Regions from separate parts of the Homo sapiens genome. Here regions 1 and 2 are each linked to region 3. Evidence: promoter capture Hi-C in 16 types of primary human blood cells and fetal thymus (Javierre and others, 2016). All regions are on one chromosome and are shown on one strand. Each heading gives the region's core, a stretch centred on a gene start or on the middle of the fragment in contact. The rest is flanking DNA. Distances are from core to core; before and after follow the strand shown.

Region 1 (3,439 bases), core at 482-2,981, 260 kb after region 3:
CCCAACTCAAGTGATCTGTCTGCCTCAGCCTCCCAAAGTGCTGGGATTACAGGTGTGAGCCACCTTGCCCAGACCTAGCTTATATTTTCAAGATTCACCTTGGAATTGTGGCTTGAGGAGCAAAAAAAAATGAGCAGAATTTTAGTGGCTCTCTAGCATATGCAAACATTTTACAAATTTGATGCCAAAAGCTGGCTACGAAAAAATACTTATGCCTACTAACCAAATAAGTGAGCTTAGGCAGAGGCCAAAGGAGGGTCATGGAGAACATTTCACTAAAGGGTAAAAGGGAATGAATGGGTTTATTCTGAGGAAATGGAAGATGATATTGTTAAACAATGAACGAATATGTCCAACCTTCTACTGTAAATCTAATATTTTGGTTTTTATTTTTGTCGTTTTTAAAAATTTAATTTTAAAATAGAGACAAGGGCTAGGCACGGTGGCTCACCAGTAATCCCAGCACTTTGGGAGGCCAAGGTGGGCAAGATCATTTGAGGTCAGAAGTTCGAGACCAGCCTGACCAACATGGTGAAACGCTGTCTCTACCAAAAATGCAAAATAATTACTCGTGCGTGGTGGCGGTCACCTGTAGTCCCAGCTACTTGAGGCTGAGGCAGGAGAATCGCTTGAACCCAGGAGGCAGAGGTTGCAGTGAGCCAAGACTGCACCACTGCACTCCAGCTGGGGCAACATAGTGAGACTCCATCTCAAAAACTAAACTAAACTAAACTAAAATAACAAAACAAAACAAAATAAAATAAAATACAGATAAGGTCTTACTATGTTGCCCAGACTGGTCTTGAACTCCTGGCCTCAAGCAATTCTCCTGCCTCGGCCTCCCAAAGTGTTGGGATTACAGGCGTGAGCCATCATGCCGAACCTAATCTAATATTTGAATCTCTATTACATGCAGCCAAACTGATATCTAAATTAACACAATTCCCAAACTTCTGTCTCCAGCCCAGACCTCTCTTCTGAGCTCTTATACTCAATTCTACACTGGATACCTCAACCTAAGATGTCCTCTAGTTGCCTCGGACACAAGTCCAAAACGGAATTTGACCATCTTTCCCCACAAACCCATTTCTCCTCCAGTGTTCCCATCATTCATCCTAGTGCTCATACCAGAAACCTGGAAGTCATCTTTGACCATTCCTGTTGCCCCACATTCAACAAATTACTTTTCTCAAGTACATCCCTCCTCTTTGCTACCTCCATGTTCAAGCCACCATTCTCTCTCTTCATAAAAGCTTTCTAAATCATCACATGTGCCCCATCCAACTCATTCTGCAGGGCACCCTCAATCATCCTTTGGAAATGCAACTCTGGTCATGCCATGTGCCAGCTGCAAACTTTCAACATCTGGCTGGGCACGGTGGCTCACACTTGTAATCCCGGCACTTTGGGAGGCTGAGATGGGGGGGGGATCACCTGAGGTCGCGAGTTCGAGACCAGCCTGACCAACATGGAGGAACCTCGTCTCTACTAAAAATACAAAAAATTAGCTAGGCGTGGTGGTGCATGCCTGTAATCCCAGCTACCTGGGAGTCTGAGGCAGGAGAATCACTTGAACCAGGGAGGTGGAGGTTGCAGTGAGTCAAGATCATGGTGTTGCACTCCAGCCTAGGCAACAAGAGCAAAACTCTGTCTCAGAAACAAAAACAACAACAACAAAAGAACTTTTCAACATCTCCCAGTGCTATTAGAATTGAGCCCAGCTTCCTAATGCCACCTACAAAGCCCTGGCCTGATGTTCTTATCTCATCCCCTACCACTGCCCACTGCTCTCTCTATTCCATCCACACAAGCCTTCTTTCAGTTCCTTCTTTCCCACCCCACAAACCCAACACGGGCTACTCCTCAGGCTGGAACATACTCCCCAACCTCCATCCCATCTCCACTTGACAGACTGAGTCCAATTTATCCTTTGGGTCTCGATTTCCCCAGGGAAGTGACCCACCACAGTCAATTACACTGCCTGTACTTCTTCACATGGCACTGATCATAATTTAATTATTTGGTGATTATTTAATTAATATCCATATCCCCGACTAAGTTGTAGCGCATAAAAGCAGGGATCATATCTGTTTAATTCAAATCGTATCCCCAGTTGCCAAACACAAATTAAATTAATAAGTATTTGTTATGACTATATCTAGTAGCTAATATTTACTGCACAAAGAATTATATGAAAAAGGAAGCTTCAAAGCTGTATTACCTTTAGAATAAAAATTTTTTTTTTGAGACGGAGTCTCACTCTGTAGCCAGGCTGGAGTGCAGTGGCGCGATCTTGGCTCACTGCAACCTCCGCCTCCAGGGTTCAAGCGATTCCCCTGCCTCAGTCTCTCGAGTAGCTGGGACTACAGGCGCGCACCACCACACCTGGCTATTTTTTGTATTTTTAGTAAAGACGGGGTTTCACCATGTTGGCCAGGATGGTCTCGATCTCCTGACCTTGTGATCCGCCCGCCTCAGCCTCCCAAAGTGCTGGGATTACAGCATGAGACACCGCGCTAGAATAACATTTTTAAAGTGATTCAGAAGAAAAACTCAGTCTAATGATTTGACCATGGCTATTAAAACATTTTTGGTTTTAAACATGTGTTTAAGAAAAAACCAAACATGCTCTAACTGAAGTGAAAAACCAAGGGTAAATTTTTTTTTCGAGATGGAGTGTCATTCTATCACCCAGGCTGGAGTACACTTGCCTGATCTCAGCTCACTGCAACTTCCACCTCCTGGGTTTAAGCGATTCTCCTGCCTCAGCCTCCCGAGTAGCTGGGATTACAGGTGTGTGCCACCATGCCTGGCTAACTTTTGTATTTTTTTAGTAGAGACTTGGTTTCACCATGTTGGCCAGGTCGGTCTCGAACTCCTGACCTCAGGTGATCCACCTGCCTTGGCCTCCCAAAGTGCTGGGATTACAGGCATGAGCCACCGCCCCGGCCCAAGGGTAAATTTTTAGTGTGTGCCGGGAGTGACCCCTCCCTGTGTTCTGAAAGGCTCAGATTTTTAAACAAGGTCCATACACCCCTCCAAGGGTCCTACCATCAGGCAGAGGGTCAACCCAGTGTTTGTTGAGTCCCATGGGAATAGAATCCATCTCAGCTTCCCGCTGGGCCTGTTTGAGTTCCCGCCTTTCTTTGGCCAAGGCACTCTGCATCATTGCTGCTTGGGAGAGGGAGCCGTCTGGGTTCTGGTGCAACAGAAGAAAAAACAACATGGATTAAATGTCCGGGAAATAATATGTAGAAGTTAAGCTCCTGTAATCTAAAACATGAGACTACATCTGGAATAAAGTTCTTATCAATGTAACAGACTATATGAAAGAAATGGATAAACCGTAGCATATTCAGATAAAATGAACAAGGACAATGTTACATCATTGAAGGAACTGGATGTTTAGTTTGAATATGAGAACCCCAAAAGAGATAGG
Region 2 (3,286 bases), core at 660-3,159, 320 kb after region 3:
GATCTTGAGTGGCCCATAATGTCAAGTAAGGGGTTTAACGTATACCTATAAGACAGTCCCAGATCTGGTGGGGTGGCTTACGCCTGTAATCTCAGCACTTTTGGAGGCTGAGATGGGCAGATCACTTGAGGTCAGGTGTCCAAGACCAGCCTGGCCAAAATGGTGAAACCCTGTCTCTCCTAAAAATACAAAAAATTAGCTGGGCATGGTGGTGTGTGCCTGTAATCTCAGCTACTCGGAGGCTAAGGCAGGAGAATCACTTGAAACCCAGAGGTGGAGGTTGCAGTGAGCTGAGATCACGCCACTACATTTCAGCCTGGGTGACAGAGCAATACTCTGTCCCCCCCCACAAAAAAAGACAGTCAACAGAAGATTTTAAGCAAGGAAGCAACTGCTTTGAGATTTGGGGGAAGGTAAATCTGGGAGTAGATATCAAGTGCATAGGGAAAGGCTAAAGCCAAGGGGACCAGATAAAAGATTATTAAAGATTTTCTAGAGTGATTATACCTAGTAATGGAGAGGGTATAGACAGATGAACATTCTCATGTCCATCCCATGTCCATGCTCATGTCCATTATACACTCACCATGCTGGTACAGCCTTTCTGGAAGACAGAGCAGCCACAGCCATTACAGTGCCTTTGTGAGAATTGCAACAAGATACTCCTACCTCCAAACAGACACAACCCCATGCCAAGGTGCGTGGCTTGGCAAGCAAAGTTGCCGCCATCCACCTCCCCTTGACACTGACTCCTGTGTGCACTAGCCCTGCTAAAGAGCAAGTTCACAGAGTTATACAACTGCACATAATCAGCCTCTGCTATGGATCACTAAACATGGAGAATATAGGGATTGTTCTATAAAGGAACAGGCTGACCACAGAGCTATGTGTATCTCAGAAGTGCCCAAGAAACAGCGAGGGTTCTGGAAGAGCTTGGACTCAGGAAACCACATCAAGGGCAAGTATCATTAATCACCTATCCGGTAGATACTCTCCCACCTTGATTCAGAATCCTCCTTTGGTCAGACAGCAACATGACCAGCACCAGGAATGACTCAAGATCGGTCTAAGCCGATCTCGGTCATTGCTGTTCCCTTTGCCAGATATTGATCCAAGGGGATACATAACATAGTTCCAGTTAACAATGCAGAGAGTTGTTTCTGGAAGGATTTGCACCCCCCTAAAAAGAGAGAAGTATGTGAAGTGGAAGCCCTTTTGCTGCCACCAAGATCTGCTTCCCTTGTTTCCTGCTTGGAAGATTGTTGTGCAAAGATGTAATGTTGGAGTTGTGGCAGCTACTTTGCAACAATGAAGAATCTCAGAGATTCTGAGCCAAGAGGATCTCAGATATTCTGACTCAGTTTCCTGACTTTGATGAGCTGCTTAACTAATCCTGGAACAATGTAACTCCAAAGTTCACATTTTGTGAGATAGGTAAACATCTTTACAATTTAAGTCACTAGTCTTTAGATATTGTGTTACTTGCAGTTGAACACCTCTGAACATTCTGAACATTTGCCAATTAATTTGTTCAACAAGTATATAATAGCTTCTACTTAATACTAGGGATTTAAAGATGTGATAAGGTTCTAGGCTGGGCACAGTGGCTTATGCCTGTAATTCCAGCACTTTGGGAGGCCGAGGTGGGCGGATCATGAGGTCAGGAAATTCAAACCAGCCTGGCCAACATAGTGAAACCCCATCTCTACTAAAAATACAAAAATTAGCTGGATGTGGTGCTGGGCGCCTGTAGTCCCAGCTACTTGGGAGGCTGAGGTGGTAGAATCGCTTGAACCCAGGAGGTGGAGGTTGCAGTGAGCCGAGATTGCGCCACTGCACTCCAGCCTGGTGACAGATCAAGAGCAAGACTCTGTCAAAAAAAAAAAAAAAAGGTTCTAAAGGAGAATTTATATTCTAAAGGGGAAGACAGACACAGTTAAACAAACAAACTCATGGGACAAATGCTCTAACAGAGGTATGAACAAATTACTGCAGGATGATGGAAAGCCAGTTGACTTGGCCTGAGAATAAGAGGATATACAGATGGGGTTTTGTTTAGATCTTAAGTGTGAGGGATATTCATGTGAAGACATCTATGATGCTACAAGTAAGAGATCTGAATTAAACTCATAAACTTTGGCAGCAACAGTGCAGAGCTGGTAGTCAAAGTCATGGGAGATGTTAGTATCTCCCTATGTACCATTGGGAATGCTTTCAGCTGCAGGTAGCAGAAAACCCAACTCATAGCAACTCAAAAATGAGAATAGCAGGTTCAGTCCAGGATTGATTCACTTACTGGCTTAACTACCTCAAAGCTCAGGACAGCATCACTGTGACTGACTCTGTTCAACTTCTCCCCAGGCTCAGCTGCAGATGGATTCTACAGCTTCAGGCACCATGTCCTCAAATCTTGTTTAAAGGTATAAAAGGCAGCTTCTCCCCACACATTTGTTTCCTGAAATGCCTCCCATCTAAACTTCTGTTTGTGCTCCATTGGCAAGGAGTATGTCACATGTCTAATCATTTTTTTTTTTTTTTTGACGGAGTCTCAGTCTGTCAGCCAGGCTGGAGTACACTGGCAGAATTTCAGCTCACTGCAAGCATCGCCTCCCAGGTTCAAGCGATTCTCCTGCCTCAGCCTCCCGAGTAGCTGAGGACTACAGGCACGTGTCACCACACCCGGCTAATTTTTGTATTTTTAGTAGAGACAGGGTTTCACTATGTTGGCCAGGCTGGTCTCAAACACCTGACCTCATGATCCAGCCGCGACAGCCTCCCAAAGTACGGGGATTACAGGCGTGAGTCACTGTGCCCAGCCTACGTGTCCACTCTTAAATCATAGGCAAAGATAAATGATTTACCATGATTGTTTGAACCAATCATGATTCATCCTTTGGCACAGAGGAGGGGTCACCCTCCCTGAACAAGAAGAGAGAATGGCTGGGTGCGGTGTATCTTGCCTGTAGTCTCAGCACTTTGTGAAGCCAAGGCAGGCAGATAACCTGAGGTCAGGAGTTCAAGACCAGCCTGGCCAACATGGTGAAACCCTGTCTCTACTAAAAATACAAAAATTAGCCAAACATGGTGGCCTGCGCCTGTAATCCCAGCTATTCGAGAGGCTGAGGCAGGAGAATCACTTGAACCCAGGAGGCAGAGGTTGCTGTGAGCCAAGATAGCCCCAGTGTACTCCAGCCTGGGTGACAGAGCAAGACTTGTCTAAAAAAAAAAAAAAAAGGCCATGTGCAGTGGCTCACACGTGTAATCCTAGCACTTTGGGAGGCTGAGG
Region 3 (3,296 bases), core at 650-3,149:
TTACTTCACTTCCAAATAAGGAAAGGAAAGGAAAGGAAATCACGTCCAGTCCTGAGACTTGCCATCCTGCAGTCACCCCTCCTTTTGTCTCCAGCAGGTGGCAGACGCGTTCCAGGGATGAATCCCACTGCCTCTGTTTAATGCAGACGGTCCAGCCGCTCCCAACAGCAGGTGGGGCTATAAGCATCCATCCTACCTGCTCAAGGAACCCAGGCATCAGAACTGCTCTCTCCCAAGTCCATTGCAAGAAGGCAGTCGTCTGGTCATGAGAGGGTTAACAGTCCACATTCCAGAGCAAGGGAAAAGGAGGCTGGAGGGTCATAGACAAGGGGAGGTGGCGCGGAGGGCCAGCTTCTCACAACACTACCGGCTCTGCTGGGAGAGATAGATCACCCCCAACAATGGCCACAGCTGTTTTCATCTGCCCTGAAGGAAACTGACTTAGGAAGCAGGTATCAGAGAGGGCCCTTCCTGAGGGGGCTTCTGTCTGGCTTGTAAAACTGTCAGAGCAGCTGCATTCATGTGTCGGATGATGGATGATGGAAAGGAGGACAGTCGGCTGCAGATGGACACAGCGACTTGCAAGTTGAGGCAGGTGGCAAAGGACTTGCAGAGGCTCTGCAGGTGGGGCATGCTGATTCATTGCCCAGTTAAAATACCAGAGGATCTGGGCAGCCTCTTCACAGGAGCTGCTTGTCCTCAAACAATCTGTCTTCAATGAAAGATTCCTCTGGCCTTCCTTTCTCTTCTTGCACCTCAGGTGTGAATCCTTCTCCCCCACGCCTCTACCTGCCCCCCCGCCCCCCGCCCCGGCCCTGTGTGGCTCATTATATGCAGGGCCAAGGCAGCATTTTCTCTTAGCTTCTTTGTGACCACTTGGTCCTGGGATGGCTTCATGGAACACATCCTGTGGTGTGCACCAATGAAGCTTTCCATACAGGACTCAAAACTGTTTTTGAAAAATGTAACCAGCTGGAAGACAAGAAAATAAAATGTCAGCACTAAAAACGCTGGCTGTGGCTTTTGCTAAGGAAAGGAATTTGGTGTTGTCTTCTCACACACACAGACTGGTTGGGGAAATGACTGTCTTCAGCACATCACCCTGCGAGCCACAGTGAGTGCCCTGGCTCAGAAGTGCCTGTCACAGTGCACAGGATCCCTGAGGAGCATGAGCTGGGATTTCCTCTGTGCTGTCCACCACAGGAGCCTGAGTGACCAGCGCATCCTCGATTTGTAACCAGAATCCTGCCCTCTCTCCCAAGCGGGCACCCTTGCTCTGACCCTCTAGTTCTCTCTCTTGCCTTCCAGAGAATACCAAGAGAGGCTTTCTTGGTTAGGACAATGAATGCTGAGACTTGTGGAGTTGGGACCAATGGGATTTCTTTAAAAGCATCTTTTTGCCTCTGGCTGGGTCTATGGGGGTCAAACAGAAACGCCTTGGGCCATTTGTTGGTGGGGTGACAAATGAACTTGGCCTGAGAAATGGAATAGGCCGGGCTCAGCCCCGCGAAGCACTCAGAACTGCACATTTTCTTTGTTGAGCGGGTCCACAGTTTGTTTTGAGAATGCCCGAGGGCCCAGGGAGACAGACAATTAAAAGCCGGAGCTCATTTTGATATCTGAAAACCACAGCCGCCAGCACGTGGGAGGTGCCGGAGAGCAGGCTTGGGCCTTGCCTCACACGCCCCCTCTCTCTGGGTCACCTGGGAGTGCCAGCAGCAATTTGGAAGTTTGCTGAGCTAGAGGAGAAGTCTTTGGGGAGGGTTTGCTCTGAGCACACCCCTTTCCCTCCCTCCGGGGCTGAGGGAAACATGGGACCAGCCCTGCCCCAGCCTGTCCTCATTGGCTGGCATGAAGCAGAGAGGGGCTTTAAAAAGGCGACCGTGTCTCGGCTGGAGACCAGAGCCTGTGCTACTGGAAGGTGGCGTGCCCTCCTCTGGCTGGTACCATGCAGCTCCCACTGGCCCTGTGTCTCGTCTGCCTGCTGGTACACACAGCCTTCCGTGTAGTGGAGGGCCAGGGGTGGCAGGCGTTCAAGAATGATGCCACGGAAATCATCCCCGAGCTCGGAGAGTACCCCGAGCCTCCACCGGAGCTGGAGAACAACAAGACCATGAACCGGGCGGAGAACGGAGGGCGGCCTCCCCACCACCCCTTTGAGACCAAAGGTATGGGGTGGAGGAGAGAATTCTTAGTAAAAGATCCTGGGGAGGTTTTAGAAACTTCTCTTTGGGAGGCTTGGAAGACTGGGGTAGACCCAGTGAAGATTGCTGGCCTCTGCCAGCACTGGTCGAGGAACAGTCTTGCCTGGAGGTGGGGGAAGAATGGCTCGCTGGTGCAGCCTTCAAATTCAGGTGCAGAGGCATGAGGCAACAGACGCTGGTGAGAGCCCAGGGCAGGGAGGACGCTGGGGTGGTGAGGGTATGGCATCAGGGCATCAGAACAGGCTCAGGGGCTCAGAAAAGAAAAGGTTTCAAAGAATCTCCTCCTGGGAATATAGGAGCCACGTCCAGCTGCTGGTACCACTGGGAAGGGAACAAGGTAAGGGAGCCTCCCATCCACAGAACAGCACCTGTGGGGCACCGGACACTCTATGCTGGTGGTGGCTGTCCCCACCACACAGACCCACATCATGGAATCCCCAGGAGGTGAACCCCCAGCTCGAAGGGGAAGAAACAGGTTCCAGGCACTCAGTAACTTGGTAGTGAGAAGAGCTGAGGTGTGAACCTGGTTTGATCCAACTGCAAGATAGCCCTGGTGTGTGGGGGGGTGTGGGGGACAGATCTCCACAAAGCAGTGGGGAGGAAGGCCAGAGAGGCACCCCTGCAGTGTGCATTGCCCACGGCCTGCCCAGGGAGCTGGCACTTGAAGGAATGGGAGTTTTCGGCACAGTTTTAGCCCCTGACATGGGTGCAGCTGAGTCCAGGCCCTGGAGGGGAGAGCAGCATCCTCTGTGCAGGAGTAGGGACATCTGTCCTCAGCAGCCACCCCAGTCCCAACCTTGCCTCATTCCAGGGGAGGGAGAAGGAAGAGGAACCCTGGGTTCCTGGTCAGGCCTGCACAGAGAAGCCCAGGTGACAGTGTGCATCTGGCTCTATAATTGGCAGGAATCCTGAGGCCATGGGGGCGTCTGAAATGACACTTCAGACTAAGAGCTTCCCTGTCCTCTGGCCATTATCCAGGTGGCAGAGAAGTCCACTGCCCAGGCTCCTGGACCCCAGCCCTCCCCGCCTCACAACCTGTTGGGACTATGGGGTGCTAAAAAGGGCAACTGCATGGGAGGCCAGCCAGGACCC

The links. The method cuts DNA at HindIII sites, captures the fragments that hold promoters and counts their contacts. A CHiCAGO score of 5 or more calls a contact.
Region 1: a fragment that was not itself captured here is called in contact with the fragment with the promoter of SOST in region 3 in 3 of 17 cell types (M1 macrophages, endothelial precursors and M2 macrophages); the score reaches 7.0 in M1 macrophages.
Region 2: a fragment that was not itself captured here is called in contact with the fragment with the promoter of SOST in region 3 in 1 of 17 cell types (erythroblasts); the score reaches 5.1 in erythroblasts.

Annotation. Positions count from the first base shown.
Region 1 is chr17:43,499,716-43,503,154 of GRCh38, reverse strand. DHX8 (DEAH-box helicase 8) reads right to left here. Exons shown (of 23, transcript NM_004941.3): 11 at 3,052-3,199. Among named protein-coding and RNA genes, the nearest start is that of DHX8, 17 kb to the right of the region's middle. The HindIII fragment of the contact is 951 bases long and covers 1,256-2,206 here.
Region 2 is chr17:43,432,650-43,435,935 of GRCh38, reverse strand. No RefSeq gene overlaps it. Among named protein-coding and RNA genes, the nearest start is that of MIR2117HG, 10 kb to the left of the region's middle. The HindIII fragment of the contact is 4,796 bases long and covers 1-3,286 here.
Region 3 is chr17:43,757,394-43,760,689 of GRCh38, reverse strand. It overlaps SOST (sclerostin), which reads left to right and starts at 1,899. Exons shown (of 2, transcript NM_025237.3): 1 at 1,899-2,168. The coding sequence starts at 1,949. RefSeq lists a silencer at 1-249. The HindIII fragment of the contact is 6,420 bases long and covers 931-3,296 here.